Regions from separate parts of the Homo sapiens genome. Here all the other regions are linked to region 3. Evidence: promoter capture Hi-C in 16 types of primary human blood cells and fetal thymus (Javierre and others, 2016). All regions are on one chromosome and are shown on one strand. The core of a region is centred on a gene start or on the middle of the fragment in contact, and the rest is flanking DNA. Distances in the headings are between cores, read along the strand shown. Region 1 overlaps MIR4280HG (MIR4280 host gene). Region 2 overlaps RASA1 (RAS p21 protein activator 1). Region 3 holds the start of LINC01949 (long intergenic non-protein coding RNA 1949).

Evidence for each region. The method cuts DNA at HindIII sites, captures the fragments that hold promoters and counts their contacts. A CHiCAGO score of 5 or more calls a contact.
Region 1: a contact is called between a fragment that was not itself captured here and the fragment with the promoter of LINC01949 in region 3, in 4 of 17 cell types (M0 macrophages, M1 macrophages, M2 macrophages and 1 more). The highest score is 20.7, in M0 macrophages.
Region 2: a contact is called between a fragment that was not itself captured here and the fragment with the promoter of LINC01949 in region 3, in 2 of 17 cell types (activated CD4 T cells and M0 macrophages). The highest score is 6.6, in activated CD4 T cells.

What each region holds. Positions count from the first base shown.
Region 1 is chr5:87,105,204-87,109,349 of GRCh38, forward strand. The region is part of intron 1 of MIR4280HG (MIR4280 host gene); the gene reads right to left. Among named protein-coding and RNA genes, the nearest start is that of MIR4280, 7.7 kb to the right of the region's middle. The HindIII fragment of the contact is 623 bases long and covers 2,573-3,195 here.
Region 2 is chr5:87,367,717-87,371,624 of GRCh38, forward strand. RASA1 (RAS p21 protein activator 1) reads left to right here. Exons shown (of 25, transcript NM_002890.3): 12 at 2,097-2,184. It also overlaps a transcript of CCNH not described here. Among named protein-coding and RNA genes, the nearest start is that of CCNH, 43 kb to the right of the region's middle. The HindIII fragment of the contact is 443 bases long and covers 1,331-1,773 here.
Region 3 is chr5:87,236,791-87,240,819 of GRCh38, forward strand. It overlaps LINC01949 (long intergenic non-protein coding RNA 1949), which reads right to left and starts at 2,411. Exons shown (of 3, transcript NR_130914.1): 1 at 2,276-2,411; 2 at 2,025-2,191. The region is part of intron 2 of LOC101929380 (a long non-coding RNA gene); the gene reads left to right. The HindIII fragment of the contact is 4,009 bases long and covers 2,169-4,029 here.

The sequences.
Region 1 (4,146 bases), core at 1,634-4,133, 130 kb before region 3:
GTACAGGCAGTAATAAAAATAATTACAGATAGTGATAAAGATCCTAAAGAAAATAAGACAGTAATAAAATTATATTAGACCATGTACAATCAAGGGAATCATCTAAGTATTTGAAACAAAGATAATGAATTAGTGGAAGAGCTTAAAAGTCAATTAGGACAGTGAAACTTCCCAGAGATTAGCAAAAGCAGAATGTCCTTACTACTCTTAGGTTGGAGGAACAAAGGAAGGAGGTCATGTTACCAGTTTCTAAGGCTTGGGGTCATCTGGAAGAAGCTGGAATCACAGTACAGGTGGAATGGAAGTGCAATGGAAGAAGTGGAACCACAGTGAAGGTGGGAACTGGAGGCATGAAGAAAACACAGGTAGTGCTGGAGGCACCATTAATAACTATGGATAGCATTTTCTCCTTACAAATGTATGGGGTAATCAATACACATACCAAACAACAGGAAAAAAAATCTGTTTTAATTATAAAAAGTTTTAGGGAGCACTAAATGAACTTTTAAATTATCGTATATCATATATTCATTTCTTCAGGAAGTAGTTCATAAGAATCTGCCATGTGCCTATACACCATGGAATACTACGCAGCCATAAAAAAGGATGAGTTCTTGTCCTTTGTAGGCACATGGATGAAGCTTGAAACCATCATTCTGAGCAAACTTATCACAAGGACAGAAAACCAAACACTGCATGTTCTCACTCACAGGTGGGAATTGAACAATGAGAAAACTTAGACACAGGAAGGGGGACATCACACACCAGGGCCTGTCATGGGGCTGGGGGAGGGGGGAGGGATAGCATTAGGAGATATACCTAATGTAAATGACGAGTTGATGGGTGCAGCAAACCAACATGGCACATGTATACATATGTAACAAACCTGCACATTGTGCACATGTACCCTAGTACTTAAAGTATAATAATAAAAAAATAATAAAAAAAAAGAAAGAAAAAAAAAGAAACTGCCACGTGCCAAGCATCATAGCAAGTATTGAGGATCCAACTGGGATACGGTACTAGTCATGCACCTTGACCACCTAAAAGTTAGTAATTGGTGATAATATCATTGTAATTTCTAGGACAGCTATATCAATGCTTTGTATGTAGTAGGTGCTCAATAACTGTCAAATGAATGAACAGGAATTTCATTTATTTATTTCATCAAAATGAATAAATTCCAGTTATTGGTAACTTTCAATAACTAAAAAAGTATATTAGAATATTCGACCGGGCGTGACCGCTCACACCTGTAATCCCAGCACTTTGGGAGGCCGAGGCGGGCAGATCACCTGAGGTCAGGAGGTCAAGACCAGACTAAACAACATAGACAAACCCCATCCCTCCTAAAAATACAAAAAATTAGTCGGGCGTGGTGGTACATGCCTGTAATCCCAGCTACTCAGGAGGTTGTGGTAGGAGAATCGCTTGAACCCCAGAGGCAGAGTTTGCGGTGAGCCAAGATCGCACCATTGTACTCCAGCCTGGGCAACAAGAGTGAAACTCCATCTAAAAAAAAAAAATTCAGCAAGCAGGTTTAAACAGAAAACTGACTTTATTCCCTTAAGGTATAATTGTTAAAAGAGTTGAAATGGTTCCTGAAAAATAGTACATCACTGAGAAAAAGACGTAGAAACATTTAAAAATTAAACCTTTGAGCAGATTTGGAAAAGAAAAAGCAAAACTAAACAAAACAAAAGCCTAACTGGCTTCTTCCGTAATAGGGAAGTATTGGCTATTACTGGGGGAAAACAGTACAACCACCAATCCGATAATCAAGTACTTGTTAAGACCCTTATATAAAATGCTATCATTTTAAACAGTGTGATTTAATGTGGAAGCAAATTAGCATAACATATAGAATAGAAAGGATATTGTCAGTTATCTTCAACATGTCTCTGCAAATTATACCCAAAATTCACTTAATAAGAACTTTTAAGATATGTAAATATGCCAAAGATCTAGTGTTTTCTATGAGATTATATACTTTTTTCTCATTTACCCTACTCTCATGGCCTTTCATACATATAAACATTGTCTAGCATCACGTATTGATCGGCATATAGTTGGGGATAAAGTGACAATCTCTTCTTATTAGCTATGGTATGATCAGTAAGCTAGTTATCCAACAATAATGCTTACTATAGTAATGTATGAATGTCTTGAAACCTGAAATTCTCTAAATGTTTGGTGATCTAAATATTAAAACATTATATTTTTTGAAGAACCAAGCCAAGATTAATGAAAGAATAACCAAATAAATGGGTCTATATGCCAGTCTTGTGCTAGATACTGGAGAATACTATATAGAAACACTATCTAAAAACAATGATGAAAATTTTAATTTTCATAATTTTACATAATTGTATGCTAAAATTATTTTTTTAACTCACAAGAGAGAAATATTCCACCAAATCTAGTCAAATATCTGCTTATCTGAGGAAATAAAAAGAGTTCATTGTATCCAGATTTAGGATAAATCTGTTACTGCAAGCAGAGGCATCTGTTGTTACTAGCATTGTGTGTGTGTATGTGTGAATATGAAGTGAATATGAATTTTACTTTCATAAGCTTTTTTTTTTCATCTAATTTCCAAATTCACAGTTGTGGTGAGATTTAAAGGGAATGAGTTCTCCCAAAACTCTAAAGAATGTAGCATTTAACTAAAAAGAACTGTAAATGCTGAGAAACAATGTGCTTCTGTGCTTATTCAGCCCAGTAACTCTGAGTTTTAACACAGTAATATAGCAGTCTTATATTTATGAGAAACCGAAGACCACTACAACTCTTTGAGGGCAGGAATATACCAAGTAATTCTGAAGCATCTGCAGGCATACCAGGATGAAATGGAGTCAGGAATCAAAAAAGCAGGAAATATATTTTTTCCCTTAAAATTAAATATACCCAAAGGAAGTGGCTGCCGTGATGGCAGATTATCGCGGTTGACGTCCAAACATTTAACCTGGACTTAGTTTCCCTCATTGTCAGTATAAGGATTTGCACACACACACTACAAGGTTGCATCTATATAGCTAAGTCTTTGGCAGAGTAGTCAGGAGTGTTGATTCTGGAGGTACTCAGGACCAGGTTCCATCCTGGCTCCACCACTTTCCAGCTATGGGAACCTGAGTAGGTGGTTCACCTTTGCAAATGTGGTCACTTTCTTGAAATGGTGAGGGGAGTGGAAGATGAAGCTTATCTGCCCACTACTGAGGGTTTTTTCAAGGTCCAGAGATCCCCTGTACTGGCCTCTCTCCATGTTCTACTCACTCTACTCCACCTCTTGGGATATATTTCTCTGATTAGTAAATTTTGAAAGAATAACTGTTCATACTCAACTCCAAGAAGCAAGCATGTGCATAGAAATCAGAGAACAAAGATATGTTCTGCACTTCCATGTCCTAAATCTTACCTAGGGAGGCTGTCCCAGTTCAGCATTGTCATAATTGGTGGGTAGGACTTAAAGCCACATCTTCTAATATGTCCTCTATTTTTTTTTTTTTGGAAAAAAAATCTACTCAGGAGGCTGAGGTGGGAGGATTGCTTGAACCGAGGAGTTTGAGGCTGCAGTGTGCCGTGATTGCACCACTGCACTCCAGCCTCGAACTCCTGGGCTCAAACGATCCTCCGACCTCAGCCTCCTGAGTAACTGGGACTACAGGCAGGCACCACCATGCCCAGCTGATTTGTTTATACAAAAAATTAATATCCCCACATTACTTATTCCTCAAAGTCCATGTTTCTCATGTAGTGGTGGTATTCAGACCACCGGCATTAGAATCTCCAAAAGCCCTTATAACAAATAAAGATTCCCAAATTCACTCAAACTAATGAATCAAAATCTGTAGGAATGTAGCTCAGGACTCCGTATTTTTAACAAAGACATCATGTGATTCTTAAGATTCATAAAGTTTGTTGTATTTTAACACATTGGAGTCTAGTGTAAGATGCCAATATAAAATGGAAGAGGAAACATGTTAACTCAGTTATTATTATCTGCTAGCAATTCAATTTGTTGAATTACACTGAATTGTACTTACTGTCAGATTATTGAGATTTATTTTTCTTTTTTGTATCTCAGTTCTGTTATCCCGTATTTTAATATAAAGTAGTTGCTGGTAAGATATAACTTTAAAGAAAAAA
Region 2 (3,908 bases), core at 302-2,801, 130 kb after region 3:
GGTATTTATTGCTTTACATTTATTTATGAAAATGTTTTGCTGGATATTAAATTCAAGATTGGCAGTTATTTTGCCATTTTAAAGATGGTTTTCTGCCTTCCAACATTTTCGTTGTCATTCAAATTGTTTCTGTTTTAGAGGTAATGTATCTTTGTCTTTTCTCTTAGAGGTAATGTATCTCACACAACTTTCTCTGGATGCTTTGAGATTTTTCCTTATATTTTTAGTGGGAAAACTAAAATGTACCAACTATAAATTAAAAAAAAAATTATCCTTAGGTTTGTAGTGCTTCATCAATCTGAGACCTGATGTTCTTTGTCAGTTTTAGAAAACTCTTGGTTAGTATCTGTTTAAATGTTTAGTATCTAATTTAAACAGTTGTTCTGCCACATTCCTTTTTCTTCTTGGAGTCTGGTTAAAAAAAAAGTTGCACTATTTCCCATGCTGTTTTCTGTTTTTCATCCTTTTTCCTCTGTACCAACCTATATATTTTCTTCTGATCTTTCAGTTCACTAATCTTCCATTCTGCAGTTAAATCCACTTTTTCAGGACTTCATTTTATTACATTTTTTTCAATTTAGAATTTCCATTTTTTTAAAGATACAGTTTCTGGCAAAATTCTTGTTACCTATTTTCTTAAACATTTTAATTATAATTACTTGAAAGTCTTGTCTGTCTTCAGTATCTGCATTATATGTATGTCTTTCTGGTTTTTCATCTTAACTTTTAGCCATTTAATCCTGATGCCTGTAGTGTCTACTTAGTTTGACTAAGTGGTAGACATTGTACATGAAAAACTATGGAAACTAATGTTATTGCGTCCAGAAAGAATTGTTCTTACGGATGGTATAGGGTTAGTACATCTTGTAAAGGCTGTTCTATTTCTGGTTTGCCCTTATCATGAAGGCACAGCCCTTCAGGGGTCTCAATGGAAAGCCTGAAATTCATTCTTTTTTCTCCTAGCACTATCAAACTACTGGATTTGTAGTTAATTTTTTAGCCTTTTAGGAACTATTTTCTGCTTAGCGTCTCAGCTACACAGCCAGCTTAGGAACTGGCAACTGCCTTGAACGGAAAAGATGTGGAGAATGTCGGGTTAATTATAGTATGATCTTGGCTCCTCAAATCTTAGCTGCTTTGGTTGTTCTCCAGTGCTTTCAAACAGTTGTTTTTCTGTTTTGTATTACTATTTTAAGTTTTATCCAACTAGGGTGGTTAGTCTGATACAGGCAACATTTAGGATTAGAAGTTTCCAATTCCTATTTTCCATGATTACTTTTAAGACATTCTCAAAGCATGAAAATATAGTCTTTATCTTTAATAAGTGTTAAGCTTGTCCTCTGTGTATTTTTGCTATGGCCTCCTAACATTAGCATGATATAAAATCTTTAAAGCAGGAAACAGAAGTAACATTTATTGAGTTCCAAAAACATGCAGGCCCTTAATAAAGATTTTACCAATATTTTCAAGTCTAGTTGGAAAGATAGCACATTTCCAAAATGATATAAATTATTACCTAATATTGTACTTACATATCAAATGATTTGAAATAATACTAAAGGAAGACAAGAACATTTGTTGTACACAACTGTTCACTTAAACTCTAGAACAAGCATATGTATGAAGAGATGATGTTTCCATTTTAACAGGTGAAGAAAAATGATCAGTTTAGAAAAATTTGAAAATACAGAATCACCTACAATCTCCTTAGAGATAATTACTTAGAACATTTTTGGTCTAAGAACATTTCTAGTCTTTTTCCAGTGCATATAAAGCTTTTCAAATTAGCTGTGTGCAGTTCTAGCAGTTCAGCTTCAATCTGTTTGTAACTTTATTTCTAATGTATTTTACAATTAATTGAAATTTCTTTAGTTTACACTTTGAAATACTGATAACATTTTAATAGTGCTGACATAAAGTTTTCTAAAATATATATAGCTGACTTTTTTTTAGTAATGATCTGGTACAATGGAGTATTATTTCTTTAAGAATTATAATTTTATGTTAATTATTTATTGTGAGTGTTTTGGAAGCTGGTATAAATATTTTGCTACTTTTTATTAAGCTTCCTAATAATTTTTGTTTTTATTTTAAAGGCCAAACTGTTTTCAGATAGTAGTTCAGCACTTTAGTGAAGAACATTACATCTTTTACTTTGCAGGAGAAACTCCAGAACAAGCAGAGGTAAGATTACTGTTTCTCAAACTACAGTATACTTTTATGTTAGCCCATGTTTTCTTATTAACTGGAATAGAAAATGATCGCATTCAAGATAAAGTGACAGAACGCCTGAAATCTAATCATCTCTTATTTTAAGGAATGAGATTTCATATGTAAAAAGTTTTCTGAAAGAAATGCAAAAACAAACACAGTGAAGGGTTATTAGGAATGAAAACTCCATTTTAAATTGACCTTTAAATACTCTATGATGTTGAGGCCAACTGAGAATGCTCATTTAAAATCCTCTCTGCATAAAGGTTATAGGTCATCTCAGTATAATCCAAAGGTAAGCCAGTTAACCAGTTAGTTTTGCTAACAAGCATTATTCTTCACTGGTTGAACTCCATGTCTGAAAATAAAAGTCAGTCAACACAAGGAAAGATATTTTAGGAATCTATTCTCTAAGCCAAGTCGAGATATAATGTCTACTTTAGATTAGCTATTAATCCATGTGCAGTGTCCTTCTTATAGCGTCTATTAAGTAATTGTGTGAAGAAATAATATTTTTTAAAAAACACTCTTTAAAAAATATTTTGCAACAAAGGGAGAACCCACCTCTATAACAAAAGTAAAAAATTAGCTAGGTGTTCTGGCTTATGCCTGTAGTCCCAGCCACTGGGTAGAATGAGGCAGGAAGATTGCATTAGCACAGGAGTTTGAGTTACAGTGAGTAAGATCGAGACACTGTAAGCCAGCCTAGGCAACAAACTGAGACACTGTCTCTTAAAAAATTTTTTTGCTTTCTTTGAACCCTAATATTTCTGGAGTATATGGTTGTATTTTATACAAATACAGCTAAATTTCTGCTTATATTCTAACGAAGGAACTTAAAGGTGGTTAAGAAGTGAAAGTGGCTTTGTTGGAAATATAATTTGCCAACCCTAGATATGAGGAAGATGCTCTTAAAACTAGATCCTAGCGTGAGACTCACAGAATAAACCTGAATGAGCTTACAACTGAACGTCATATTTCACATCTTTATCAAATATCTCATTTAATGCTCATTTCACATGTAATGCACATAAAATTTTACGGCTATGTATCCCTAATTTTTAGATGAGAAAGGTAGTGCTCAAAACATTTTGGTAACTTACATGATTTTTTTAAATGTTAGAAATTGAGTTAGAAATTTAAACTTCAGTATCCTATTTTCTAAGTATTTTACCATGGTCCCTCTTTCTGAATAAAATGTCACATACCATAATGACATTTCAGCATGTTTTGCAAGCCTAACATAGAACATTTTTTAATGTATTTATACATAATATTTCTGTATTTCCATAAATGGTATTTCCAGTTTTTGTTGATTTATTGGGCTGTGGGGGTCTCTGGTTATTCTCTTCTATTTCAAAAAGCTATGGTAACTGATTTGGTTTTAATTTGCTGTAATATAAAGACAGTCTCTAGATATTAATAAAGTTCAGCTTCATTGAAATAGCCAACAAACTAAAGACATAATTGAATAAAGCAATAGTACACAGCTTTCCAGAAATATGTAAAAACCAAAGTGAATATTTAGATTTGTTTTTAATAAACCTTAGTTCTCTCCTTTTCCCCAAAGCACTAGATAAACATTTTAAAAATATGGCTGCAATTTGATTTGAATATTAGGCTAAAATGATTTTTAAAATCTAATGTTATATTTGAGAAGCTTAAAAATAACCCAAATCCCCTTATACATTTCTACC
Region 3 (4,029 bases), core at 1,161-3,660:
GGTAACTACATGGCATGATATTGCATAAAAATAGACGCATAGACATAGAGAACCTAGAAATCACATACTTATAAAATTGTGCTTCTGCTCTTTAAGAAGAAATGTGGATAGATATGTTATGGGTAACCAATAGTGACTGCCACAGTGGTTGTATAAATTCCTGCTCCTGTAGAAGTGTGTGTGTTTGTGTTTGTATGTGTTTTACTTGCTAATATAAGGTTTTGTTTTTCAGTCATTTTGGAAGTTTGTTGTATGTTATAGGTAAACTCTGGTTCACATTCACATTTTCATGATAAATGGTTAAGCATTTTTTCCATATATTTATGGCCATCTGAGTCTCCTCTTCTGTGAACTATGTTTATGTTTTTGTTCTCTTTTGATATTTCTTATCTACCTGAGGAGCTCTTTATAGTCTAGATATGAATTATTTTGTAAGATGTATGCATCACAGATATTTTCTCCCAGTCTGTGTGCTATGGACTGAATGTTTGTGTCCCCAAAAAACTCCTATGTTGAAATCCAATCCTCCCACCCCCATCCTGCCTTCCAAAGTGATAGTATTTGGATCTGAGGCCATTGGAAAGTGATTATATCATGAGGGTGAATCCCTCATAAATAGGATTAGTGCTCTTGTAAAAAGTACTCCAGAGAGCCATCTTGTTTTTCTGCCATGTGAGGACATAGTGAGAAGATGGTGGTCTATAAACTAGAAAGTGGGCTCTCTTTGACTGGGACTGCTCAGCCTCCAGAAACTATGAGAAATAAATGTTGTTTAAGCCACTCAGTCTATGGTATTTTTTTATACAGCCAGAATGGACTAAGACACTGTAACTTATCTCTTAATTGTATTTTGGTGTCTTTTACGGAACACATGTTTTATTTAATGTTATAAAAAAAATGCATTTTGTCGTTTATGCCATTGCATCTAGCTTAAGAAAGCTTTCCTTACTGGAAGTCATAAATTCTCCTATCTTTTTCTAAAAGTCTTAAAGTTTTGCTCTTTGTATTTAAGTTTCTTTCATCTGAAGTATATTCCATGTAAATAGAGTGAGGCAGAGATCTTTCTGACTTTTTCCCATGTGACTAACCAATTATCCCGGCATTATTTGTTATTTTTTTATTTTACTCCTGAATTTTAATGTCACACTTGTCATACACCAAGTTATCAAATATGTGAATCTGTTCTGAGTTTTGTTTTGTTGGTCTATTAATTTTATTTCTGACACAATAATACAGTTGTATAATTACAACATTAGAATATCAATATCTGGTAAAGTAATATCAGTGAAACTGATTTATGAATTGCATGTAAAAATTTTAAGGCCACCATGTCAATGTAATTAGCACTGGCCTACAGATAACCTATTGATTTGACCACTTTGCTCTTGTATGTAGAAACTTTGCTTAACTCTCCTATTCCAGTTCTTCAGCTGTACAATTATTGGATTTTCTATAAAAAAAAATATTCAAATAATCAATATTTGATCTTCCCTAATCCATATAACTGGTTATTTCTTTCTTATTTCATTGGTTAGGAACTCCAGAGCAATGATGATTATTGGTGGAGATAATAAGTATTAATGCTTGTTCCTAATGTTAATGGGAATTTTATAACTCTCATACATTATTTCTAGGATAAATCATATTTGATCATAATGCATTTTTTAAAATGCTTGATTCAATTTGTCAACATCTTATGATACTTGCATGTACTCATAAGGAAGATTAACCTATAATTTTTCTTTCTCTTATTTTTCTAGTTCAGCTAACTAGAATATATTAACTTCATGAGAGAAACTACAGAATTTTCCTCTTTTTCTGTATTTTGTAGCATTTTGTGCTAAAGAGATTTTTCTGTGCTTTGAATGTTTGTTGGTAATCCCTGTGTAAAATTTTCTAGACTTACTGTTATTTATTTTGGGTAGGTTTTTGCTTACTAATTCAATTTTTCCAAAGGCTTTCTCCTCAGACATAGATTTACTCTTGAGTCAATTTTGGTAATTTAAATTTTTAGTGATGCCCACCTGCAAAGGGCCAGGTCTGGCATACAGTTTGAAATTTGCTGCCAGAGTCCCATTTTGCAATCCCGAACTTCTGGTGGAGACTGGGGTGTCCATGGCCCACTACCCAGTGGCGAGTAAACTCTTTGCTCCCAGACTGTTGCAAGAAGCTTAAAGGATGGCCTCCAGATCTGGAACAATTATGTTCTCATATTAATAAAAAGATTAACAATATTTTTAAAAATCTGTCATTGAGAAACTGGCCAAGAACCTACCTTGAAGAATATCTTAATAGGAGATGAGATCACTGTAAGAAATGAACTTCTAAATAAATTTGAATAGGAAATTCAGTATTAAGAACAAACCAACAATTCACTCAAGGAACTCTGTAAATCTCTTGAAGAATATTATAAAATGTGGAATATCTCAAAGAAAACTTTCCTTCCCATGTGCCTCAAATAACAGGTCTCAAACTCCTAGCCTCAATCAGTCCTCCCACCTCAGCCTCCCAAAGTGCTGGGATTACAGGTGTGAGCCACTGTCCCCAGCCATAATTTATTTATATTTTATTTCTTTAGCTTTTTCATCTTCTATCCTGTTTCATATAAAATTCAAACTTTTTTGGATAAATTTTTTAATCAAATGCTTCCGTTTAAGTTAGTTTTAGCATTTATTTTTATAAAATTTTAGCATGTAATTTTAAAATAATTTTTTATATTTTAAGATCATACCTGTCCATGTGACTCCAATTCAGCTGTAAAAGATCTGAGAAATATTTGATCTGTTGTCCAGGAAGAAAAGGAGAGGAGGAACATTCTTCTATCATTTCACTCTTACCTGTATATGAAGAATATACTTACCTCCCCCGAAGGAGGACAATCTGAAGTCCCTTCTAGTTAGTGCATTCAGCTCAAAGCCCAAGACATTCAAGAAATGTGTCATCTTCTCCAATACGTGAATGTTTGAATTCTCCTGAAATAAAATCCCATGAACTGAAGAAATATCCTGTCTTTACCACCACTCCCATATACACCTACATGTGAGGGTGCATGCATGCACATGAACACACACACATCTAATATACAAAATGAATCAAGGACAGAAGTAGCTATAATAGGAATCTGATTAGTAAGGGTAGGAATGGAAGGCAAGCAACAGTAACCAGTGCATATAGATCTTAAACAACAGATCGCCAAACACACTGCAGAATGATAAGAGGGTCTGAAATGTAATACATCAAGTGTTAATGTGCCAGACCTAGAAGTGGCAAATGTCACTTGGACATATTCCACTGGCTAAAACTCAGTTACATAGGCCCAGTAAAATGATAAAAAGCCTATGTAAGTTTTGGTTGTATGCCAAAAAAGAAGAGGACAAAATGGATATTGATGTGCACTAACAGTCTGTGTCATCATGGTGACATGATCCTTCTATCATGAAGTAATCAACCTCTTTAGAGAAAAATCATTATTAGACTTAAAGTTGTTTTCTAATATCAATATTACTGTCAGATCTATTTTGGTCCGGTTCCTGGTGTACAGTTTTTCAACCTATGACAGTAAGTTCTCAACGTTGTTGATAGGGTCTTGGAAACTTCAACTTCAAGTGAGATGCCATGTAACAAAACCAGTTTTACTATAGGCTAATTAATATAAACAAGAATTAGTTCCTATGGCATATTTGTATCACAAAAACATCAACAAATTTCTAAGTGAAGACTTGAAACACTTCTAATGTTGAATATTGATATAAATGTAAGCTATACATACATTTAAGAAAAATCAACAAAAATAAGTAAGCAATTTGTCCAATTTTTGGTGAATCAGTGAGTGACAGCCGTCATCCTGGTGGTAGGTTAAATCAAGAAATAAATGTTTGTAAAGTGAAAATTGTCAGGAGTACCTCCTACCAACACACAGTTCAAAAACAAACAATATTCAATAAGGCAGACTCTCTAAGCACTTTCATACAACATTTCTTATTATTTTGCATTTGTATGATTATCAAATACTTTATATTTTATCTTATA